Regions from separate parts of the Homo sapiens genome. Here region 1 is linked to region 2. Evidence: promoter capture Hi-C in 16 types of primary human blood cells and fetal thymus (Javierre and others, 2016). All regions are on one chromosome and are shown on one strand. The core of a region is centred on a gene start or on the middle of the fragment in contact, and the rest is flanking DNA. Distances in the headings are between cores, read along the strand shown.

The links. The method cuts DNA at HindIII sites, captures the fragments that hold promoters and counts their contacts. A CHiCAGO score of 5 or more calls a contact.
Region 1: a fragment that was not itself captured here is called in contact with the fragment with the promoter of GPR63 in region 2 in 4 of 17 cell types (fetal thymus, non-activated CD4 T cells, naive CD4 T cells and 1 more); the score reaches 7.2 in fetal thymus.

What each region holds. Positions count from the first base shown.
Region 1 is chr6:95,567,735-95,574,633 of GRCh38, forward strand. The region is part of intron 1 of MANEA-DT (MANEA divergent transcript); the gene reads right to left. Among named protein-coding and RNA genes, the nearest start is that of MANEA-DT, 6.3 kb to the right of the region's middle. The HindIII fragment of the contact is 5,105 bases long and covers 2,726-6,899 here.
Region 2 is chr6:96,833,366-96,839,892 of GRCh38, forward strand. GPR63 (G protein-coupled receptor 63) reads right to left here and starts at 4,112. Exons shown (of 2, transcript NM_030784.4): 1 at 3,903-4,112. RefSeq lists a silencer at 3,622-3,671. The HindIII fragment of the contact is 5,695 bases long and covers 3,739-6,527 here.

The DNA of each region.
Region 1 (6,899 bases), core at 4,028-6,527, 1.3 Mb before region 2:
ACCCATTCTTTAATTTATATATTTTTATTGGTCTGTTCAGGTTCCCCCTTTTTTTTTTTTTTTTTTTTTTTTTGAGACGGAGTCTTGCACTATCACCCAGGCTGGAGTGCAGTGGTGCCATCTCGGCTCACTGCAACCTCCGCCTCCCCAGTTCAAGTGATTCTCCTGCCTCAGCATCCCAGGTAGCTGGGATTAACAGGTGCCCGCCACCATGCCCAGCTAATTTTTTCTATTTTTAGTAGAGATGGGGTTTCACCATCTTGGCCAGGCTGGTCTCTAACTCCTGACCTCGTGATTCACCCGCCTAGGCCTCCCAAAGTGCTGGGAGGTGTGAGCCACCGTGCATGGCCAGTTTTCCTATTCTTGAGTGTGCTTTCATCATTTATACATTTTTAAAAAATTAACATCTAAGTTTTCAAATGTTCTGGCATTTATTCTTAGCATTCTCTGATGACTTTTTAAAAGCTTACAGTACTTTTATTACTCCTTTTCCATTCCTGATATTATTTGTTCCTTTTCTCTTTTTGCCCTCCCCCTCATTTCTGTTGGAGGCCTATTTATTTTTAATAGTTTATTTTTTTAAAGACTCTGGTATCTTTATTTTCTATTTTATTACTTTCTCCTGTTATCACTATTTCTCCCTTTTTTTGACTTTTTGGGTTTACATTAATGCTCATATTTTAACATGAAGCCCTTTTAAAATAATTCTTTTCTAAATATAATCTCTACTTTTAGTTCTTTTTTAATCCATGAATCATTGGTCTGTGTCATTTCATTCCTATACCTGATGAATGGCTACTGTTTTGTTATTGTTTTTTAATTTCATTAAATATTTGTCAAAGAATACAGTTTATATGTTGTTATTTGGTATTTCCTGAAACAATCTTTAGTGGCCTAGAATGTGCTAAAGTTTTGTACATACTAATGTTTTCTTAAAATAAAGTGAATTATTTTTTCAGGTACAAGATGATATGTAAGTACAATAAATAAATTCCCTTAAGTGCTTCGTTGAAATAATCTATATTCTAATAGTTTTATACTTTACCTATTATTTCTGGTAGAAGCATGTTACCAATCTCAATATGATTATTAACTTTGCAAGTTCTCTTTGTAATTCGGTCCAGTTTTTAAAAAATCCTTATGATGCAAGAATAAGTTGTCTCATTTCCTTGGCTGAATATTACAGTTTCAGAAGTTAGGAAAGAGTCTTTCATCCACGACTAATCTTCTCCACCAAGTCACTGGCTTCAAATTTTCTACTTGTTCTTGACACTTAGAATTTTTTTCTCTCTCATTTTTTCTCTCTCTCCCTCTCAGGCTACATAGTAAAACCAAATATTTTAAAATTACACCTGATTTAGCATTTCTTTGTGTGGGAGAGAGGCTGTGTAGCCACATTAGTTAGTTCACCCAGAATTGTGTTCATCAGAAATTTTCCCCGTAAAATTTACAGTAGGGTTGATATGAAGAATCAGTGCCTTTTCTTTCCTCCTGACTGGGCATACCAGGTTGCACTGACAATATTTTCTAAAATAGATTGTATTCTGTACCAGCAACTCGTTTCTTTATTCTATTCTGGCTGTCACACTTAAAGATATTATCAAGATGTTTTGCAAAGTTGCAGAGAAGTTTTAAAGGGGTCAAAATGTTCTGAAAGAAAGTTAGAAACATATTCATTTATTTATTTTTGTTGTAGAAGAGGTATTACGGTATTTTGTAAAGCTCAATAAAGAGAGCTAGGAAACCTGTATGGAAGAAATAAGGAAATTCATTTAGAATTATTTTGATAAAAACTTTGCAGCAATTTGTCCTGACTTTGTGAGAATCAGTCACCTATTCTTGGCTGTTCAATGTATGGCTACCACCTGTTTGGAATGTTGTAGAAGAGATTGTTCTACTAAGTAAAATAAACAGTGTCCAGCTCAAACTTAATGTCTCTTAATAGTCTAAAATTCTATGAGTTGCCAAAATCCAACAATGTTCCAGCAGACGTAAGACTGTGGAAATTAGACAGGAAGTTAATAAGTAGCCTAAGCCAGGTACCGCCGGGCAGTAAGTGTTTTGGAGCTACATATTAGAATATAGGGAATACCACTGAGCTGCCCACAGTAAGAGCTTGAGGGAAAATAAATCTCACGTCTAGATGCAAAAATGCCACAGGAACAACAAGGAAGATGAGTTATCCGGGGAGCTTGAACATATGCAGAAGGAAATCACAATTGAAGGGGAAAAAATTAAGAGAAGCCAAAATATTTTGTTCCTTGGTAAATAAACCCAGAATAAAATTTCCTTATCTTGTGTTTTAATGAAATATCATTGATATTCACTTGAAAAATATTTTATACTCAGTATTTTCACATTCTTTTGATCTTTATTCCTATACTTTTCATGATCAAGTTATACAAATTGTAAAAAAAGTCAATGTTGTGGAATAAAGATACACTGTATCTCATAACAAATTCCATACCCACAAAAGCAGTGCAAATGTATGTATGTATGTATGAAATTTGTATTATGTATTTTTAGCACGTATTTTTGGGAGCACATTATCTTTTTCTATGAATCATAAAATACTACAGATAGCACATATATAGAATACATATAAAATTATATATAAATACATATAGATTATATGAATACATATATTTATATAAAAATAATTTATATTATATACATATTTATATATATAAATATTTGCTGTAAAATTATAAATGGTAACTTGATAAGCTTTGCTTTTATTGTTGCATATTTTTATTTTAACAGATGAGTAGACATCACACTCAGGGAATTTATTTTGAAAGAAGAACAACAAAATGTTACCACCAAATTATCATACATATGTATAAACACACACACACACACACACTCCCACACACATACTCTTACACTGTGTTTCCTTCATTCCTTATTCAGTCAATAAAGCATGAATTTCTGGCCACTAGATACATTCAACTAAATATTTCTGAAGTCTTGCTATGTGGAAAGCATTGTGATAGATGCTGTAAATAGATGAATGCAGAAAAGACTGCCTTGCAGGGGCACAAACTCTTTTGAGATATAGACATATACAAAAATAATTAAAGTAATCCAAACAGTGGTAAGCAGATAATCAATATAAACCACACACTGTATATCTCTGTGTTTCTTGGTAGACGGCAAACTCCTAGGAGGTAGAGATTTGTGATGAATATATGTTTTCTGAAAGTAGGCACCCCTCAACATTGTGAATAAAAGCATAATCAAATAAAACCAATTATTATGAAGCTAACATATTTGCCCATCTCAACAAACCAAAACAAAAACAGCCAGAATAAAAATTGGTAAATAACAACTCAGTTTATATTAATGCAATTAGCTTTTACTTTGCAGATACATTTAAAGAATGATGTTTCTCTCACATTCAAAGAAACAATCTGGGCATCTTATAATTAATGTAATATTTATTGAATCCCTACTGTTCATTGATTTATTTATTCAACACATATTTGTTGAAAACTGTATTAGTTTCCTGTGGCTGCTAGAACAAATTACCAGAAACTTGGTAGCTTAAAAAGCATACATTTATTCTCCTGCAGTTCAGGAGGTCAGAAGTCTGAAGTCAGTTTCACTGGGCTGAAATTGAGGTATTATTATGGTCACTCTCCCTTCTGAAGGTTTTTCTTGCCTTTTCTGGCTTTTAGAGCTTGAATGAAATGCTTGCGTTCCTTTACTTTTGGTCCCTAGTCTGATCTTCAAAGCCAGCAGCCTAGCATTTTGTTTCAGTAGTCCCATTGCCGCCTTCTTTGTCAAATCTCCCTTTGCCTCCCTGTTATAAAGACATGTGTGACTATATTTAGGGTCCATCAAGACAACTCTCATCTCAAGATCCTTCCTCACACCTGCAAAGTCCCTTTTGCCATTTGAATTATTACTCACTGGTTCAGAGGATTAGGACCTCTGTATCTTTGGGAATTATTATCATCCTACTACAAGCACCTACTATGTGTTGGGAGTTGGAGCCCCAGCTCTGAATTAGACTATCTCTGGAACTGCCTTCATGGAACCTGGCATTACAGGGTGTATAAAAGACGTACACAACACAGGCCTGCTATTTAATTGGGTTCTCTAACAGAAAAATGTTTATCAGCGAGTAAGTGCATGTTTTTTTCTTTTTCTCTTTTAACAAGAGAAATTGCCAGCTACTTCTTAGAATACGCAGGCACAGAAAATCACCTTGTAGCTGATACTGTTGAGAATAATTACTGTGGTCTCTCTTATATAAATAGAAGACAAGTGAGCCCATCATTTTGAGAAATAACAAGGCATTTTTTTTTTCTTTTACTGACTTTTGCAAACTGCTTCTTTTTGCATGGCAGGAGAAGGTGGTACTATGGCAGGAGAAAGATTAGGTTGGTTTGGTTAAAGAATCCATAGCATCCCACGAAGGAAGAAACTCAAACCTAATACCTTAGGAAATTCTCTGTGAAACCTGGAGTTTCAGTGATGCAACATTTGGGGAGTGGCTGATTGTAGTATGACACTAATGCTCAATCATAAAACATAGGACTTCCTTCCTTCAACACACTGAGAGGCCCTATATCAACTGGTGGAGTCATTTCCGAACTCAGGAAGTGCTACATCTCCCTGCTGGCTCTGGTTTCCACTAAAGACATGCATCTCCCTTAGCTGCCACCATGCCTGTTTGCAGAATAGGGTTTCCTTCAGGATAGGGTTTCCTTAAGGAGAAATGTTCCATATATAGTCAATCAATGCATTAGCATTTAACAGCACCATTCAACCAGAGGTGAACTTTCTGCCTTCTTTATTTGGGAAGGCAGAACGCTCTCCCATCTCTGTCACTCAGGAGGGCCATCACCTGGGCAAGTACTTGGATCAGAGAATGAGAAAAACTTTCACCAAAGGGGCTTGGCCTGTTTAGTTAGAAGTTACCTACACTGAGTTTAATTCTGGGTTATGTACATCAATTCTTAGAAGAGCCTTATCTAATGCATCAAGAAGTCACCCTAAAACCTGTGACCACTACGAGGCCAGTGAATTTTAATCATGACCTACCAAGGCAAGTTTTTTCCTTGGTCTGATAATAGTTCGTGAATTTATGTGGGATAGAGTTAGAATGGATTCCTTGCTGTCAGGATGCTGGTAGGTACAGTGAAAGGATCAGAGCATTAGGGGAAACAATGAGTTTGGCTCTCTGAATTATCTACTGCTATAAATTGGTGGAAACTTTAGTGTTTTACTCATGGCACTATTGGAGTTACATTCTTTGCATCCCAAACTGTGTCAAGGAATACCTTAGTTACACCTTCACAGATACCAGATATGATAAAAAGAACAGAACAATTTAGTTAATTAAGAAATTATTGCTGTTTCATATTACTCCCTATAAATGTATAGGGATTAAAAGAATAAAACAGTAAGTATAAAATAGTAAGGGAGAAAGTAGACTTTATATGGACAGTGAAGCATACTGTGATGGATAATTGGACTATTGTTTGGGGATTTAGTTTATTTTATTTTGTTACTACTTAGAATCTAAAAATCCTTCAGGTTTTGGAAGAATAATGTATTCTGTGTTTTGTGCCCAATTTCCCATTAAAGCCAAAAGTTCTGGGCTCTACTTCAAGGAGGCTAAGGAGGAAAAGACATACAGCCTAGAGTAAGCTAATCAAATGATCTCAATCCAAAATTTGAATCTTGAAGCAACGAGGTAGACAACACAGAGTTGAGAAGTCACTCATAGTGGTGTCAGCAGCTTTGAGATCAGTGCAGCCCTGAAAGCAGCAGTGCCCTAATCTGTACTGTTATATGAGGCTGTGTTCCCAATTTCCTAGCCCCTCTTGTTTCCTATCCATTGCCATTACCTAATGTACTAGCCTTCATCTTCATGCTAAATTCTGTAACTTTTTACATAGTCTATTTGTTTTCAGGTTTGCCAGATTCAATTTCTATTGCTTACAAAATATATCTCTGATTAATGTAAGTGGAGAGGATATGGACAGAAATTGATTTCTCATCTTCAGTGACAGGAGTAATGAGCAAAGGTATAAATGGCATATGGCTAGGAAATACTAATGAAACTTCTAGGACAGGGAAAAATAGACATGAAATAATCAGGAGACAAACAATAGGGCCCATTGAAATAGAGGCAAGAAAAAGATGGTTGAAGGTGTAACTGCTTAGGTCTGGGAAATACAAAGAAGACTCTTCAATGCTGATGCCAAAAGATAAGATAAATGGCTGCCGCTTTTCTAGTAGCAAGATAGGATTAACCTGAAGGATCTTGTGGGGTGGGGACTATGATTTTAATAAATGCTAATTAGGATAAACCAAAGGCTACTATTAGTTTATTGTGTTAGAATCTTTCCATACAAGAATTTGACAAAAAAGAAAAAAAAATGGGGGATTTTTTTTTTCTCCATTCTTCCTTCTTTGGATCATTTTTGTCTTTGGACTCTCAGTGACTGATTACCCCTGATGCAACACATTTAAAATGTCTATTTACTACACAAATGAATTTATATGCAGCTCTTTTTCTTTCCAAGAAACCATCTATTAGATAAATGGCATATTCTTCTGGTGCTGTATTTTTAATTAAAAAATACATAAATATGGGCTCACATTAAAAAAGAAAACAGCACTACAGAGAGTAAAAAAGAAAATTCTCCTTCATTCCCCTTCTGTTACATCCCTATAGGTAACAATGCATATATCCTTTCAGATATTTTTATATATCATACATGCACATATATATTTAAAATTTATATTAATATAATGTGAATTTCTCTTGTAAGTATTAACATACTAATCACTTGCTCATTTATCTTGGAGACCTTTCCCATCAGTGCTTATTAATTTACTAAATTCTACATTGTTTACATTCAGGAAATTATTGAACTAAT
Region 2 (6,527 bases), core at 2,862-5,361:
GTTGAAACTCTTACTCTGATCTAAACTTCAGGCTTCTTTAAATGCCTACAAATGTTCTCTCTCTAAAGTTACCTACGCATTTGTTTTTGTTTTGTTTTATATTGTATAAAGTAGGAAGATGTAAAGATGCCTCATTTTAGGAGAAAGGTAACAGCTAGAATACAGAATCATGTCCCTTCTGCACCAGCCTCCCCAAGGAAGATCCTTAGAAGTTTCCACAGAAAAGAATTTGCCTAAAATATTTTTCAAATGCTTTAATAACATAGACTGAGCTAAGTCAATTGAGAGAAAGAAGTTAACCAAGAAGCTTTGCTCAAAAACCCTAAAAGGTATGTAAAGCTTATAACTATAATAACACATAAAGGTTTAAATTGAAAATGATGTTAAGAATTTGAAAATGATCTAAGAATCAATTAATATATATGCCAGGTGATTGGTACAGTATCTGGCTGGGGGTTTTTCTAAATTGTATCTGGGAAGATGTAATTCTTTAGCATATCACTCAAAGGAAATGCTGATAATAATAACCCTATTATTAATTTCAATAGGTGACCACTAGATTGCCCCCATACCTGCAAATATACCATCTATTCCCCAAGACCCGAGAGCTGTGTTAAAATCCAACTTTTCTAACTCTTCATTATGTTTATAATGAACATGAATGAGCTTTCCTGTGTATTAAGCTAGAGTTTCACGCTTGAGTTTTCTGAATCTTCTGTCATACAAACAGAAGTGGATACAAATCTTGTCCATATTTACTGGTGCAGAGGCTAGAATGCATTTTATCCTATGTGTCAAACTTAAAGCCTGAAACAGCTTGCTGTCAGCTTCAGAAACCATTTTTACAAGCATGGCATACCGCCTCAAGCCAACCAAATCCTAAAGCATGTTGGGCTGCCCACACTTCAAATCATTTGGAATGTTCTCATGTTTTGTGGTTGCAAAAGTACCAATTTTGTGGATCATCTAGTTCAAATTGAGGGCACATCTAACCTTAAACAGAAAATTCCCCGGAAATTGAAACTATAACTGACCAGGATCACATCAGCTCTTAAGATCTATGATCTCAGGCTGGTAGTCAAACATCTCAAATGTTGTGTTTTGAAAGTTGAAGAAATGCAACATAAACTCTGTGAAACTCATTCATGTGTCTTCAAGGAAACACTAAGAACTCATCCTAAATATACATATGTCATAGTTGCAAAAAAAAAAAGGAAAAAGTGCCACCTGCAACAAAGTAAAGGTGATTTGCAGCAAATATAAACACATTTCTGGTAAACAGCTAGCAAATTAAAGAAAAAAAAACCGCCTAACAGATTACTTCATTTCATTTCTAATTTTCATACATAAGCTGAAATATAGCAGCTTCAGCTGTGAAATGTGGTAACAAACATAACAAAGGTGAATGAAATAGTTTTGCTTGTAGTAACTGGAGCACTGTATTTATACATATTGTTTTTCCAAGCATTAATGGGTCCCTCTCTCAAATCAAGTGCTTAAGACATCATTTCACAAATTGGAGTACCAGAACTTCCCCAAGGTTTGCCTCTCATGCCTTTGAGGTCTACTCTCTAAATCCCAGATCTATGAAGAATGTCCTAAAGGTTATTTTTGAAGTATTAAAAGAAGAAAACACTATATTGACAAACTAAATTTTACCTAGAATTTGCCTATTGAAGCTTAAGAAATGCCTGGTTCAATTATCCATTGGCAGGGTAATTCAATCCATTTGAATAGATAAATGTGGTTAGGATATGGTTCCCTGATCCAAGCCTTGTTAAGAGTTCGAGAACATACTGAAAACCAGTGCTTTTTAACTTAACTGATATTGACTAAAATGCTGAAAAGATGACAAGCCCTAGCAATAACTATTTTTAGCTGATATTTTAGACCTACTGTTCCTGGTGCACATGTATTATTAGGTCCCTAAATGGTTTTCATGTTTTTTATATACTCAATAGCATATACAGATATGGTATATATAGTTATACTATATATAGTATGGATACATAAATATAGATATATGTGTGATATGGATATATACATATACAAATCCACCTCTGTGTGTATCATTTCCAAAATACTCATTCACAAAACAATCAACCCAAATTAAATAAACCATAAACAAAATCTCAAGGTGCTCAAGTAACTCTAGGAACTAAGTCACATCCACTTAGGAACACTAAATTCTTACTTTCTTGCTTGCAGTCCAGCAAACTTAAGGTAAAACAGTAACTACATAGGGGTTTTAGTTATGTTTATTTTTCCTAAGCAAATTTTTCTCCAAGAATGTTCAGCTTGCTGAAATTTTCAGAAAATGCTTGAGATGGTGGGTTCTTTTTTTGAGTTTCGGTACTGGTATACTTTACAGCAAAGTGACAAAACTGTACTTAGAGATAAAAATCTATATCCCAAACAAAATTTTACAGTATTACTGGTTATTCTGGGATGATTTTCTTCGAAAACTTCCCATTACAAACAATATGTTTCCTACACTATCCCGTCTGCCTTGGTAGTATACTTTTCACACACAAAATTGTACGTAACGCATATACCAGAAATACGTCAAGGCACTCTTTTATTTAAATAAGCTCCCACATTCTGTTTTTATTGTTCAAAATGATCTGAATGCTCATAATTGATGTAATCAATTATGTCACTAAAATTTTGGCTATGCAACATTTTACAAAATATAGGGACTTTTCATCAGCACCTTAGATTTGTAGTTGGCAATGTGAGTGAATAAGGCAAACAGGAATAGAGGTGTGGCAGAGACCTAGGGGTGTGAGAAAATGGGGCTTCCTTTACCCACGGGACACGTGGGAAAAAAAACTTATCCACGTCTGCAATAAATGTACTTTTATGTTAGGTTTCATTAAATGAAACACGTATTACATACCTCGTCAATGGATTAGAATGTCTGAAGCAGTATCAGCTTATGCAAGAAACATGAGGTTTTTATCCATGATTCTTAGAAACACTACTCCTAGAACTGGTTGAAGGCTTCTTAATCTAAGACATAATGAAAAACAAGCTCACCCAATAAACAAAGAGAAATCCTATTTTAAAAACATATGGTTTAAACTTCATCCTACCTCACTAAAAACCTGCATGCTACTATAGGGATGCCTGTATTCCCTAAGTGTCGAGACTCAGTCTCATCCAAGACTAAACGATCTCTTTGAAAATTTGGGCAAGCCCTGGGGGAAATTTTCATAAAGATATGTTGTTGGATTTTTTTTTTAAGCACTCTGAGCCTCCACAACATATTTTATTATTAAAAAGAAGAATGTTTCCGAAAAGGGGCAGAGGAGAAAAGACTGAAATCAGGGCGACGTTGAAAACCGGCCAAGGATGCAACACACAGCGCCGCAAGCTGAACCACATGGAAGAGGGAACCTCTCTTAACTGTTGGAGCGCGAAAGGACCTTTCGCTCTCGCAAACAAGGTAAATTTCAGCCCTCAAGCAGCGAGACCACCGTGTAAAAGTTCAAGTGGAGCTCATCTCCTTCCTCTCACTCCCAGCACTGAATTCTCAACCAGAACAGCCCAGCAGGAAAGGAGCCGGCATGGGGTGCCCCTCTGCAGCCGACCGTTTTCCTAGAAGGCCTAACCGCTCAGACGGGCAGGGGAGGGGGGCGGGCGGCCCGGGAGAAACCGAGTCCCCGCCGGGTCCCCACCGTGTGGCGCCGACCGAAATAACTCCAGTCCAGCTGCAAAAACCCTCCCGAAAACCCAAGCTTCTCCGGCACAACTTCGGTCTCTCCAGCCTCATTCCTCCCCGCACTCCGCCAAACTGCTCGCCCTGCCCAGCGCAGCGGATGCAAGCGCTCCCCGCCCCGAGCGGCTACCTGTCCCGCGGGCCGGGGATCGCGGGCCGGGGATCCCGAGCCTCACCTCACCTCAAGCGAAGGGCAGCGCGCGGGCGCCCGCGGAAGAGCCCAGGGAGCATGGCTCCATGTAGTCCCTCCCGGAACTTTCCTGACATAGCACTTCTCTCCTCCGCTGCAGAGAACAACGCTGCCAGGCGGAGGAGGAAGGAGGACAACGAAGAGGAGGTGGTGGCGGCGGCGGCGATACAGGCGGCGGTGGCGGGAGCTGGAGCTGAAAGTGAGGAGCATCGCGGACGAGCGCCGCCGCCTCGCGAGCCGCCGAGGGGTTCCCGCCCCCAGGGTAACCAACGCTCCCTCTTAAAGGCGCCGGCCCCGGTTTTAGACCGGGAGGTGAGTGAGAGAAGAGAAAGAGGGAGGAGGCAAGTAAAAAGGGAGGGGGCAAGTAAAGAGGGAGGAGGCAAGTAAAGAGGGAGGAGGCAAGTAGAGACGGAGAGATCCCTGGAGGCCACGCCCGAGCTGCCCCAGGGCGGATCGCCGGCCCCTTTCGACCGCTCCCTGCCCTGAACCCCTCTATGCTCAGGTCGCATCGTTCCTCCGCCTGGGCAAAGGCATCGAGGGTACCGCAAGTGCGCCCACCCGGCACTGGGGCAACCCTCGTCGTTGGCCTGCGCCCTGCACCCCGCGCCTCGCTCCCAGACGGTCGCCCCGCCCCTAATCCCTGGCAGTCCTTTTAGGGTCCTGGTTTCCCGCTCCCACGGGCCCCCAGAGTGCACCTCCAGTGGCTACTGCCCAGTGGATTTGCGTTCCCCGAGGCTACTCGCGTTTCTTCTTTGGTTATTCTTCCTCATTTCCAACACAATGATGAGGGTCTCACGCAGGCGTCCAGAAGACTGAAATAACTAAAAGCCAGCTGGGGCCCCTAGACCAATGCTTGAAGGTGTCCCTGATGTGTGGCATGGGAGAATTGCCAGGTATCCTCCTTTACCCGGTGCTCTGTTCTCTTCCAATGGCCAATCCCCAGCTGGCCTCCCACTGGATTTCTAAAACGATTCACTTTCATCAACACATGGGCTGTAAAGATGCCAAACAACTCAGGAAGACCCCCCAGAAAAAGTATCATCTTGAGACAGTGGAAAATGCTGCTTTCAGTGACAAGTGATATTTTCAGCTATTATCAACATATGTGATCATTACTGAGGCCACAGCCTCAGGTGGTGATGCCCAGGAGGCTCCCAGCATCAGCAGCTATCGTCACCCTAGGAAGAGACCACAGCAGCAGTGGGCATGAGCAGCAGAGGGTTGCTACTGTCCACGGACTTGTTTTTCTACCTCATAGTTCCAACCCTTGCTTCTTGGACCTATGGGACTTCAGTATAGTGTTGTGCAGTTTGTACTCTGCACTGTGTCCTCTGTCTGAGGAGGTGGGCAGGCAATTTGGAGTTAAGATCTAGCCTGGGTTCCAGAGCACCAGTCCTAGCACCAAGCTCGGAGAGAGTGGCATTTCCTCATTCACACAAAGGCACTTGCATATCACTACCCTGAGACTGAACCAGAACATCTCAGTTCTTTGCCTCCTGCCACCTACAGCTGTGAAAGAAGCACTTGTGTTGAACTTGTAGAAGAATAAGGCAAGAGGAGACTATACAAAAGGTTGAAGAAACTTCTGTAACCAGATGGAGACGAAATAAGCCCTGGGCTCAATAAAAGCAGGAGACATGGTCTTGCCTGGACCAAACTTTTAAGATGGGAAAGGAGATTATCAGCGAGCAAAAGTGAAGTCAGGATAGTTGGATGTGGCCAGCACACAACTCAAACTGAGTTAGCAAAACCTGCAGCAAAGGGCATTGGAATTTATTGGTTCATATGTTTATAAATCCCATAAGTAGAACTGGCGCGCGCACACACACACACACACACACACACACACACACGTTCTTAGAAATCCTTTTTACTCCAGATACTCAAAGAGCATCAGGACTCAATTTCTCTCCCTGTCTTCATTGTGCTTTCACTGCACTGGTTTTATTTCTCTAAACAGAGGGAAGACCTACATCTCCAGTCTTAACATCCAACCTCCTTAGCAATTAGTCGCATCAGAAAGAAAGCAAGCTGAAGAATGTCTCACCAGACCCACGTGGATCCTGCGTTCATCTCTGAACTAACCATTGTAACTATGGGATGGAATGCACACTGCCAGGCTGGGGTTATTTGCCTTTATCTACAAAAAGGTCAAGGGAAATAATTGTATGTACCCTTCATATATACCCAAACCACAGGGACCGAGTAGAAAGAAAGAGGTTTCCCAAAGGAAAATTAAAGTGTTGTTAATAAAGAAGGCAAAAGAATGTTGAGTAGATAAAGACTATAAATGCCCACTACAATCCCCATTCCCCAGTATACACACATCACCACCACTGTCACCAAGGGGACTGACCACCTCTCTGCTCCTTTACCAACAGTCTCAGGATCAGAAGAATGAGAATGCTGATGGGTCATGGAGGTGCTAGTAATTGAGCCAACCAGCCACATCCTTTGGCCTCAGAGCCACTGAGAAGATCCTGAGTGACATTTGTGACATTTCACAAACCACCTGCAAACAAACAATATATAAACCATGATTGTATTCAATTATTTTTCCCTAAATTATAAACCTGCCTCCATGTACCTCAAGCCCACATTCATTGTTAGGCCTTT